3 separate regions of the Homo sapiens genome follow, and regions 1 and 2 are each linked to region 3. Evidence: promoter capture Hi-C in human tissues and cell types (Jung and others, 2019). All regions are on one chromosome and are shown on one strand. Each heading gives the region's core, a stretch centred on a gene start or on the middle of the fragment in contact. The rest is flanking DNA. Distances are from core to core; before and after follow the strand shown.

Evidence for each region. Contacts are between HindIII fragments. The study calls those that stand out against the background at their distance.
Region 1: a fragment that was not itself captured here is called in contact with the fragment with the promoter of MRAP2 in region 3 in 1 of the 25 tissues and cell types used here (hippocampus).
Region 2: a fragment that was not itself captured here is called in contact with the fragment with the promoter of MRAP2 in region 3 in 1 of the 25 tissues and cell types used here (H1 embryonic stem cells).

The regions. Positions count from the first base shown.
Region 1 is chr6:83,862,546-83,866,139 of GRCh38, forward strand. It overlaps RIPPLY2-CYB5R4 (RIPPLY2-CYB5R4 readthrough), which reads left to right. Exons shown (of 18, transcript NR_174604.1): 4 at 1,630-1,783. CYB5R4 (cytochrome b5 reductase 4) reads left to right here. Exons shown (of 16, transcript NM_016230.4): 2 at 1,630-1,783. Among named protein-coding and RNA genes, the nearest start is that of CYB5R4, 4.7 kb to the left of the region's middle. The HindIII fragment of the contact is 4,744 bases long and covers 1-3,594 here.
Region 2 is chr6:84,192,262-84,195,930 of GRCh38, forward strand. It overlaps CEP162 (centrosomal protein 162), which reads right to left. Exons shown (of 27, transcript NM_014895.4): 10 at 2,623-2,814; 11 at 1,348-1,429. Among named protein-coding and RNA genes, the nearest start is that of CEP162, 34 kb to the right of the region's middle. The HindIII fragment of the contact is 5,582 bases long and covers 1-3,669 here.
Region 3 is chr6:84,032,247-84,036,158 of GRCh38, forward strand. MRAP2 (melanocortin 2 receptor accessory protein 2) reads left to right here and starts at 1,526. Exons shown (of 4, transcript NM_138409.4): 1 at 1,526-1,637. The HindIII fragment of the contact is 8,786 bases long and covers 1-3,429 here.

The sequences.
Region 1 (3,594 bases), core at 557-3,056, 170 kb before region 3:
AATCAAATAATCAGTTCCCATTTGGCTAAAGTATATAATGGAAAGGAGCAAAAGTTAGAACATGGAGCTAGTACAGTCAACTGTGACCAGATTGTGAAGACCTGGTAAATCCCTAGGGAATTTAGAGACGTTGTTGTAAGGTGACCTGAGGAGCCACTGAAGGAGGGAGAGCCTGTGATTAGATTTGCATTTCTGAAAGATTGCTTTAACTATCCTGTGGATTATGGAATGGAGAGAGGTGAGTGATTTTAGTTTGGGATGGGAAAGGTCATTTTCTCACACTTCATTTATTGGGATCAAGAGACCTAGAGTTTCAGTGATAGCCAGAATGGAATGATGTAGATTGATAGGATAGAATGTGAAAGGCACCACAGACCTATTAACTTGGTTACTTTGGGAGTAAATGGATGTCTAAAATAGATATGATTCAGGAAAGTGAGATATGTAAACATCCTTGAATGTGTCTGCTTTTACATTAAACATTCTTCTGTTACTACGTTACAAATTAGTCAGACAAGCTTAGTTCCATAGAGATATCTTGAAAATGTTCTGGTCAAAGTACTAATAATACTTCTCGTCTGAAAACTTTGAAAATGTGTTTTATAAAACAAAACAAAATAAAAACCCAAACCATCCTGTTACTAAGTTCCCTAGGCAAGGGTTGGCAGTTTTTTTTCTGCAAAGGGCCAGGTGGTGTTTTCGGCTTTGAGAGCCTCATAAGGTTTCAGGCTCTTTACCACCACATGTGAAGACGATTCTTTGCTCAAGGGCTGTATAGAAACAGGTACAGGCCATAGTTTGCCACCCCTTCCCTACAGTGTTACAAGTTTTATTTTCCATTATTTGATAAACTTTGTTACTCAATGGATTCTTAGATAAGATTGCTATCTAATGATTTCTAATAGTCTGTTTATCTTGACAGTCCAGAAAATCAACTATAGTTAATTGTCTCTTTACCTTTTCTTCTGTCAAATCTCTTTGATTTTTAAGGTGAAGAAATTTTGGTCCAAACTGGTTAACTGTAACATATTAATGTCAGAGCCAGGACCAGAACCTCTTTTCTAGTTTCTGGTTCAATACCATTCCTGTTATATGGTCAGCCCTGTGTAGCCCTGGGTTCCGCGTCCAAGGATTCAACCAACTTTAGATCAAAAATATTTGGGGAAAAAAATTAAAAATAACAATACAACAATAAAAAAATAAGAATTATAAAACAATGCAATACAACAACCATTTACATAGCATTTACATTGCTTTAGGTATTATTAGTAATCTAGAGATTATTTAAAGTATATGTGAGAATGTTCATAGGTTATATGTCAGTACTTTGCCATTTTATATGAGACACTTGAGCATCCTGGATTTTGGTATAGGGTAGGGGGAAGTCCTAGGACCAGTCCCCCAGGAATACTGATAGACTACTGTACTGTGACATCAATATGGTGAAAATTTGTGTGGTAGAATTTCTAAGCCCTACCTTTTATAATTCAAATACAGCATAAACAATGTTGACAGCCTCTTAAAACTGTAAAAGGATTTATAGAAGTGTTAGATTTGAGTTTTATTATCTTTTAAAATGGAATTAAAAGTAATGAAGCTAGATTTAATTCTTCCTTTTTCCATTTTTAGGTACCTTTAAAACAGGGCAGAAGCCTTATGGATTGGATTCGACTGACCAAAAGTGGAAAGGATCTAACGGGATTAAAAGGCAGGTTAATTGAAGTAACTGAAGAAGAACTTAAGAAACACAACAAAAAAGATGATTGTTGGATATGCATAAGAGGTAGGTGGTATTTATTAAGTCCTTCAAAAAATGTTGCCTGAACTTTCCAATTATGATGTTACATAACCTCACAGTCATGTTATTTTAAACAATTGACAATTTAACAAAAATATGCCTTGTGCTTGACAATAACTTATATAATTCTGACTTTGGATAGTATTTCTTCCTTAGGTAACCATTATATTCTGATGCAGAAAACAGTGAACTTCTGATACGAAAAAGTTTTTCTTGCTTCCTTGTACTGCATTTCCTTTGAAAGGAAACAAGCATTTGCCAGGCAATATAGTACAAAATTATTTGGTAAAATCCAGTTTATATAGCAATAACTTTCTGTCTCAGAGCCTTATAACAGAATTCTGTTGGAAAAAAAAAATCTCTGAGAATCTAAAGTAAACCTGAAAGTCCTGCATTAAAGCCAAATCTTCAGTTTTCACTTGCAGCAATTTTCATTACATGGTATATGTTTCTTAGCAATATTAGTTACTTGATTTTGTTTAGCTCAGAGTGCATTAGAAACTCCAAATTAAATATAAATGTATTGGAGGAGGTGAGCAGGCAGACAAGAAGGTAGCTGATAAAAGCTGACTTTGTGGTAGCCAACAACCTGATATCTAGTAGGGGAACAAAAATAAAAATGAAAGGCATCCAACTATACCATGAGGCTCCATGCATGGTTAACTGTGTTTACCATCTGTTTAGAGAGGAAGGGAAATATATCATTTTTGTTCTTAATGCAATTGTAATTTTATCATTGTATAATTTTGGTTTGTTGTCAGTTATCCTGACTGCACTATAACCTATATGAGGGCAGGGACATTGTTGGTCTTACTGCTCTGTCCTGAGTGGCTGGCACATAGAGGCCATTGACTTGTATTTGTTCAATGAGTGTAACACTTACTTTTAAGAAGTATGGTCACTTAAAGAGGTATCTGGTGGTTTTCACAGTGGATTGGTGATATCAACACCAATAAATGCTGTATTAATTTCCTATGGATGCCGTAACAAAGGACCACAAACTAGATGGCTTAAACAACAGAAATTTGTCTCATAGTTTTGATGGCTAGAAGTCTGTGATTAGGGTGTCAGCAGGGTTCGTTCCTTCTGATGACTGAGTAACAATTTGTTCCATGCCTCTCACCTAGCTTCTGGTGGTTTGCTGGCAATCTTTGGAGTTCCTTGGCTTATAGAACATTACCCTAATATCTGACTTCATCTTCACGTGGCATATTCCCTATGTGCTTGTCTGTGGTCAGATTTTCTGTTTTTATATGGACCCTAATCATACTCGATTAGGGACCTCCCCTACTCCAGTATGACCTCATTTAATTTTGCATCTGTAACAACCCTATATCCAAATAAGGTCATATTCTGAGCTACTGATGGTTAGGACTTCAACCTATGAATTTGGAGGGGGACACAGTTCCACCCATAACAGACACAATTAGAGTGTGAAATTTTCAGTGGCAAAGGGTATGGAAACTTCCAGCAGGTGATGACGTAGTTTATATTGAGACATAACAGGTGTTCAGCTCCCCAAAGTTCCTCAGAGACCTACAAATGTGAATGGTACCAGCAATCTGGAATGAGGATTCTGGCAGGTGCAAAAAGATCCTTTTGACATTTTATAGGGTTTTTGCCACCCTCTTTATCCTTCCTTCATGCTCCCTATCTGTTTACCAGCTGCAAGTAACTGGTACAAAATGACTTCCCCATTGTGCCTGAGTGTTTTCTGCTAGATAGGGTGAAGTCAAGATTAATTTCCCAAGAACACCTTTCAGCTGGCCCAGGCTGCAGGCATGCCTGAGTTCTGT
Region 2 (3,669 bases), core at 648-3,147, 160 kb after region 3:
CGTATGATTACTGTTATACCTTCAAAATATCTGTTTTAAGCTTTTAAACACAAATGTAAAAATCTGTTTTAGAATTCCTATTACTGAAATGGTTTTACCTATAACAACAAAGATATAAGATGTGTAAGAAAATCTCTGTAGTTACCGCTAACATACTCCCAAACAGCAATGATGAGTGGTACCATCTCTCCTTTAAAAATACTAATTAGCACTACAGATCAATGGAAGACTACTACACTTAGCATTGAAGTGAATGAATTTTAGTGGAAGGTTCACTGCATCATTTTTTTCTCAACTCACACAAATGTAGAAACAAGGCCAGGAGATCACCACATGTGGATTTACATCATGAGGATACAGTATAGGAAGGAGGCTGAAAACATGTCTGTTGAAGACACAAATGAACAAATGACAACATGAATGGATGACAGACTATTTCACAGAAGTATTTTATGGAGATCAAAGACCTGACAATGTAAGTGGTTAAGCACATGGATGGCCTGTGTTCCTGGTCTACAACTATATGACCTTGGGCAATGGCTTTATTTATTTTAATCTCTTAGGCTTCAATCTTCTTGTCTATGAAATAGGGATAATAATGGAGTATAACCCATGGAGATGCTGTAAGGTTAAATTAAATAATATACGTATAGTATGTGCCCAAAGTAAATGTGAAAAATGTTAGCTGTTATCATCTACCAGTAAATTGAGTTAATCTCAGGTGCATTTCTTGAATTATGGGCATAAAGATGCATTCTCTACTTGTTATGAGGATCACGTGGGAGACTGGACATGACATTTCAGTGCTACATAAAAGCAACGCTGTCTATTACAAGGTTACTGTGACATGTTACTCCGTGTTGAAGAATGACAGTGGGTCACACATACTTCCACTAAACTGTATTGGACCTGAAGCATTTTAATGAGGACCATTTCTCTTGTGGCTACAAACTCACCCTGTGAGATGACAGCCAGTCTGTGACTAAGTCAAAACTAACTGGTTTATAAAGAAGGAAATCTATGACTCATAAACATAATAAAATTCACTTTCTCCCTCATCATGAATGAACTGTTCCGGCACTATTTAAAGCTGAGGAGACTGTATTTTTCAGTGAAAACCTTTAGGACTATTTAGTGGCCCCAGTTTTTTTATAGCATCTATTTATTTTTTCATTTAGCCCTAGAATTTTGATGACTTGAGTAAGGACAAATATAAAAAGAAGAGAGTTATGACTCACAGGTAGAGTCAAGCTAGTATTAGTCATTAATCATTCACTAGGAATGATTACATAGAACAAATGACTATAAAAGTTTCCAATGACAAAACAATAAATAAAAAATTCATACCTGACAGGTTGTAAATCAAAACCACTGATCCCAAAGGAATCTATTCTGATAGGTTTCATCAGCTCCTCTACTGTGGGCAGATCTAAGAGGTGGAAAAAAAAGTAGAAACGAAAAATGTTATGTAGGTTGCTTAATTTACATGTGTAATAACACCAAAATTATATTTTCTCTGACACAGTTAATAAAACGGTACATGCAATAAACCTAGTTTTCCGTCTTAAGTTTCCTTATACCAGGAAAACTTCCTTTCTTATGAAATATCAAATAAATATCTCAAATATCAATATCAAATATATTTATCAAAAAATATCTATACATACACACACGCTAAGTACATATTTGGTTGATCCTGAAATACTGTTGTCTAACAAAATACAACTTTAATATACGTACATACAAAAGAGTAAAAAATATCCCTTTAAATGACTTCTTAATTTGATCAAGGCATATTAGAAAAGAAACTGGGCCAGGCGCAGTGGCTCATGCCTGTAATCTCAGCACTTTGGGAGGCCAAGGCAGGTGGATCACCTGAGGTCAGGAGTTCGAGAGCAGCCTGACCAACATGCCAAAACCCCATCTCTACTAAAAAGACAAAAATTAGCTGGGCATGGCAGCAGGCACCTGTAATCCCAGCTATGCAGGAGGCTGAGGCAAGAGAATTGCTTGAACCAGGGTGGCGGAGGCTGCTGTGAGCCGAGATCGTGCCATTGCACTCCAGCCTGGGCGACAGAGCAAGACTCCGTCTCAAAAAAAAAAAAAGAAAAGAAAAGAAAGTGAAATTTCGTTTTGTGTTTGGCTCTAATTTTATAGTTAAACCAAGGGTTCCTGTATTTCATTTGAAAAAATCTTTTTTTTTTTTTTTTAAGGCAGAGTCTCACTCTGTTGCCAGGCTGGAGGAGCAGTGGCGCAATATTGGCTCACTGCAACCTTCGTCTCCCGTGTTCAAGTGATTCTCCTGCCTCAGGCTCCCGAGTAGCTGGGACTATAGGCGTGTGCCACCATGCCCAGCTAATTTTTGTATTTTTAGTAGAGATGGGGTTTCACCATGTTGCCCAGGATGGTCTCAATCTCTTGACCTCGTGATCCACCCACCTCGGCCTCCCAAAGTGCTGGGATTACAGGCATCAGCCACCTCGCCTGGCTGAAAAAATTTCTTTAATTAAGCTCAGAGACTGAGAAACAATCACTACAGCAAATTGTATTTTAATTATATTACACTAAAAACTCTTTAGAAAGGATATCAAATAATTGAAAAATTCATCTGTAAGTTTTTACCAGATTCCATAGTAGAGATGTTTTTTGAATTCTCTTCATTTTCTTGAGGATGACCTTTCACTGAGCTCTTGATATCTTCCACTGTGTTACTCTCAATTTTTTGTTTGTCTTCATCTCCCAATGAATGGGCTATATGACAATAAGCTTGATGTAGGGCTTCAACGTCACTACTGCTTTGTCCATAAGAAACACCTGTTGAAATAAACGTAATCACCAGAAATAATTACATCACAAATACATGAGAACGATAAAACACTAATATCATTCCTTAACCTGTTAGGAATATAAAAGTAGAGTTAAGTACTAACTAGGTAATTTGCAGCTATGGCCTACCAGCATGGATTCATAGCAGGCTCAACAACTCTTTTAGCAAACTGAGGCGTGTCCTGATGTGGTAAGCATAAAATCTGCTTTCACTCGTCATTGTTCTTTCTCCTACTATTCTTAATCGACCCCCTCTGCATAACTATTCTTAAGTTTCCCAAACTAAAAAATTCCTTTGACGGATTCTACCTCTCCTTTACCATTACCATTCTCTCTGCTTCTCTGTACCACCAAGCATCTTGTCATTTGCACTTTTTCAACCACAATGAATTCACTCCTCCAACTTTGCAATCCAATGTATTCCAACATCCTGCTAAAGCTGCTATGATCAAAAGCAATTTCCTAATGACCAACTCCATTTGTATTTAGTTCTCTTCAACTATGTGAGACATCTGACATTATCTTTTTCACTTTATCTTAGCCAAAAGGCAGAGAAGTCAAACATTGTTTTTTTTCCTGTAACTGTTTCTTCTGCATGCCTTCTTCTTTTTGTTATTACCATAATTTTGAGGGCAATTTTCCAACTCTTGCGGTCTATAGTTCATTTCAGGGCTCCATCTTCAGCCCTCTTCTTTTGAATGCCTCTCACTTACTAGTTTTTTGGCCTGGCTAACTTCATGAAGACTTTTAGCTTCAACTATTACCCATATGCTTATGACTCCCAAATCTATGTCTTGTGTCCTTATAACTCTTTTCTGAATATCAACTTAACAGACATCTAGA
Region 3 (3,912 bases), core at 276-2,775:
AACCACCATTCTCAGCAAACTAACACAGGAACAGAAAACCAAATGAGCATGTTCTCACTCATAAGTGGGAGTTGAACAGTGAGAACACATGGACACAGGGAGGGGAACATCATACACCGGGGCCTGTCGGGGGTGGGCGGCAAGGAGAGGAAGAGCATTAGGACAAATACCTAATGCAAGCGGGGCTTAAAACCTAGATGACAAGTTGATAAATGCAGCAAACCACGCTGGCACATGTATACCTATGTAACAAATCTGTACATTCTGCACATGTATCCCAGAACTTAAAATTAAAAAAAAGAAGAAGAAGAAAAATGGTGTTCAAAATATTTCATTTTACAAGTGGTAATGAAACTGAGCTTTTAAAAAAAAATCAGTGATGAGATGTCATTTCCAGGAATCCTCTTTTGGCACCACCAGCTTGAGTTCATCACACTGCCACCAGCCTGCATGGGTGCTGCATTTCCCCTGCTGCTGTATAATGGTGGTTAAACTATGGTTCTGGGGCACCAGGCTTCCTGACCTTGAAGGCAAGCTCCTCTATTGACTAGCATATGACCTTGGGCAGTTCCTTTAACCTTCCTAAGTTACAGTTTCTCATCAGTAAAATGGAAATGGTGGCAATACCTGTCTAATATGGCATATGGAGAGTAGTAAAAGAAATGACTAGTGCAGTAAAGAACATCTCAGTGCCTGCCACACAGCAAGTGCTTTCTCTCCAGATACCAGCGTGACTTCTTTCTGTCTCATCTCCTTTAGATCTTTACTCCACTGTGAAGCCATCTTTGACCATCCCATTTAAAAATGCACCCCCTACCTCCAAACATTATCCCATTTCCTCCCTTCTTTTTTGTCCACCGCACTTCATCACTATCTCACATACTATGTATTTTAGTTATTTGTTATGTTTATGCCTGTCTCTTTAGTAGAATGCAAGCACCAAGCACCTGTATTCCCAGATCAATGCCTGGCATGCAATAAGGACTCAAGGGAGGAAGAGATGAGCCAGCCCTGCTATGCTGAAACTACTCCCGGCCCAGTGCTAGCCCTTTGGGACCCCGTTTGAACGTCTGACTGCCCTTTGACACCTGGACCAGTGGGCAGGAAGAGAAACTAAAATCGAGGTAGTAATTTAAGCAGCACATTATGGGGGGGCTCTGGCCTTACTGAACTTGAACTCAATGCTGCCGATTTTTCATAAGCCTTGATTCATGATACCCCACTCCCTCTTGCTCAGCTAATGAGCTCCTCCTGTTACCCAAAGTTGACCCGAGGGACCCACTGCAGAGCCCGGGATGGCAAAGAATTCTCTGACTCAGGCTCTGACCCGGACTCGGAGGGGCAAAGTGAGCAGGAAAGGGATCTGCAAAGCTCACCTCCTCTTGGCCAAGGCGGCCTCGCGCTGGGGAGGCGGCTCTCGCGCTGGGGAGGCGGCTCCCGCGCTGCAGCCCTGCTCCGGCGCCCCGCGCCGCCTCCGCTGCGGGTCGGGAGCGCGCGTCTCCGCCGCACCTCGGATCTAGGAGCTACTCGCCCGGCCCTGGGCGGTGGGAGGCGGCGGCGGCGGCGGCGCTCGCGCACCTCGGAGGAGCCAGGAGCCGGAACCAGGGCCGAGCCCGCGGGCCGGGGCTAGCCAGCCGGTAACCACGGGCGGGACAGGGCGCCCAGGGCGGAGCAAAGCCCGGGCGCTGGGTGCGGGGCGCGTGCAGCTTTGGTCAAGGCAGGGCTTGCTTGGGTTTGGGGGCAGTCTTTAGTTTAGAGGGGCTAGAGAATGGGGTGGGAGGAGGAGAATTGGGGTGTGAGGACGCCCACGGGAAGAGTGTGGACCCCGTGGAGAGCACCAAGTTTAAAACCTTCCCGGCAGCCCGCTGATGTGCGTGTGGACGCCGCTGGGCGTCCGAAAAGCCTGGAAGCGGCGGCGCTCGGGGCTTGGGTGGGCTTCCTCCCCTCCGCTGGGCCCCAGCGGCCGAGGCACACCCTTTCCCGCTGGTGAGAAAACTTTCCTTGCTGCGGCCCTCCTGCCGCCTTGGTGCCCTGCAACTGAGAGAGCCCCCCTGGGCTGGGGAAATGTGCTGGCTCCTGGCCCCGGGCGCGCCTCCATGCACTGGGCAGGGTTCTCAGATGATGCCTGGCTTGACAGTTGCTCATTCATTTTGTTTGGACTGGGGAGCCTGCTCGCAGGTCGTGTTACTGATTAGAGGGAAATAGGGGTTTTACACTTTCCCCGCCGCCCCACCCCGCAACCCGCCCCCGCTCCCCCCGCCCGCCCCGCGCCCCGTGCCCCGTGCCTTTCCCATCCTTTCTGTGTAATTAATTGAGGAAGGCAAAGAGTAGTCTCTGCAGAAACCTGTTTGGAGGCGTTGTGGTTTCCACAGCATGTTAGATGGCACAGAATCTCAGCCACTACTCTGCATTTAGTTTGACAACAGTGAAACACTCTGGTGTTTTGAAGGCAAAGGAAGCTTGAGGGAATGTGTCCAGGGAGACGAGAGAAGGGAACTCTTATGCATAAATTAATTCTTACGAAAACCCCAAAAGTAAACAGTAGTATTTTCAGTTTGCAGGTAGAGAAAATTAGATTGCGATATTAAATACGTTTTCCAAGGTGACTGCCCCAGTTAAGTAATAGTGGGGAGTAGGGGTCTGGAAGCTAGGACTGTGAGTCTAGTTTCCTTTAGGTACATTGCATGGGGTACACAGACAAGAACAGGTGCAGGAGAGTGACGAGGGCCTGCAAGGATAAGGTCAGGAAAGCCAGAGGCCACTGTGAGCTGGGGTACCCACAAGGAGTTTCGTTCTTATGAGGAAGATCATCCAGTGTTTATGGAAGAATAGATAATATTAACAGGTGATAGGAAAAGGAAGAGTTGCTTCCAGTCTGTATCTTTCTTTTCAAAGTGAGGCCAGCCTAAACCCTTTAAAGAGGGTCTCGAAGCCCGAAACTGGACTGGATTGTTCAAAACCCAAATGGCAGACGTCCTAGAGTAGTGAAAGCGGTTACAGTCATCTTTGTGCAGGTATGAGAGATGAGAATGGACCCAGGAGACTTTTTAAAAGAGGGAAACATTGAATCCTGGCAACATTCTAGAACAAATTCTTTAAGATAGCTCAAAACTACCTAGGGAAGCATTTACAAATACTTACGCCAAACCAACTCCCTTCCCTTTTCTAGCAATCTACTGGGATATAGATCAGGGTATGCTGTATCCATTGTCTTCAAATGTGGGCTGTGACTCATTAGGCTAATGATCAGTTTAGTGAGTTGCAAATAGCAGTTTTTAAAACATGAAAGCCAAGAGAAAGAAAGATAAGATATCAGAGTGCATTGCAGGAGCAAGGGAAAGTACTGTTTTGTGAAGCGCGCGCTGGTGATGCATGTGTCCTGTTCTGTGTTGCTGATCCTGCTGCCTCTGCGTGAGTGTTCATACCCATCGCTAGCTGCCCCCTTTCAGCCTTCTGAGCTAGCCCCATTCTGGTCACAGTGGGGGTCATCTTCTTTTACCTTGCAGATTATGTCATCAACATATTCTGGAAAGCTGTTCGCTTCCTCCTCCCCATTTCTGTTGGCCCCCAGATGCTGAGGTATTTTGCCAATCAGAATTCATCTCTGAATTATTTATCTGTGACCTTTTTTGATAGTCACAGTTCATAGATAACTTTTATCAAACATATTAAATTAGTTCAAATTGTATAAAGAGAATATCACATCTGTCCTTTTTAGCTTTCAAGGGAAATGTTTTCATTACTTGGAGTACAAAAAATATTGGAAGAACAATATTCTTATGATGTTTGTGTAATATATTTAAGGAACTATTATTATACCAAGCTATGATATTTGGAAGATTACCAGATAATGCCTCATTGTGTCATTTTCTGTCTAGTCTTTTTTTTTTTTTAAATTTTTCTCATTTTGGC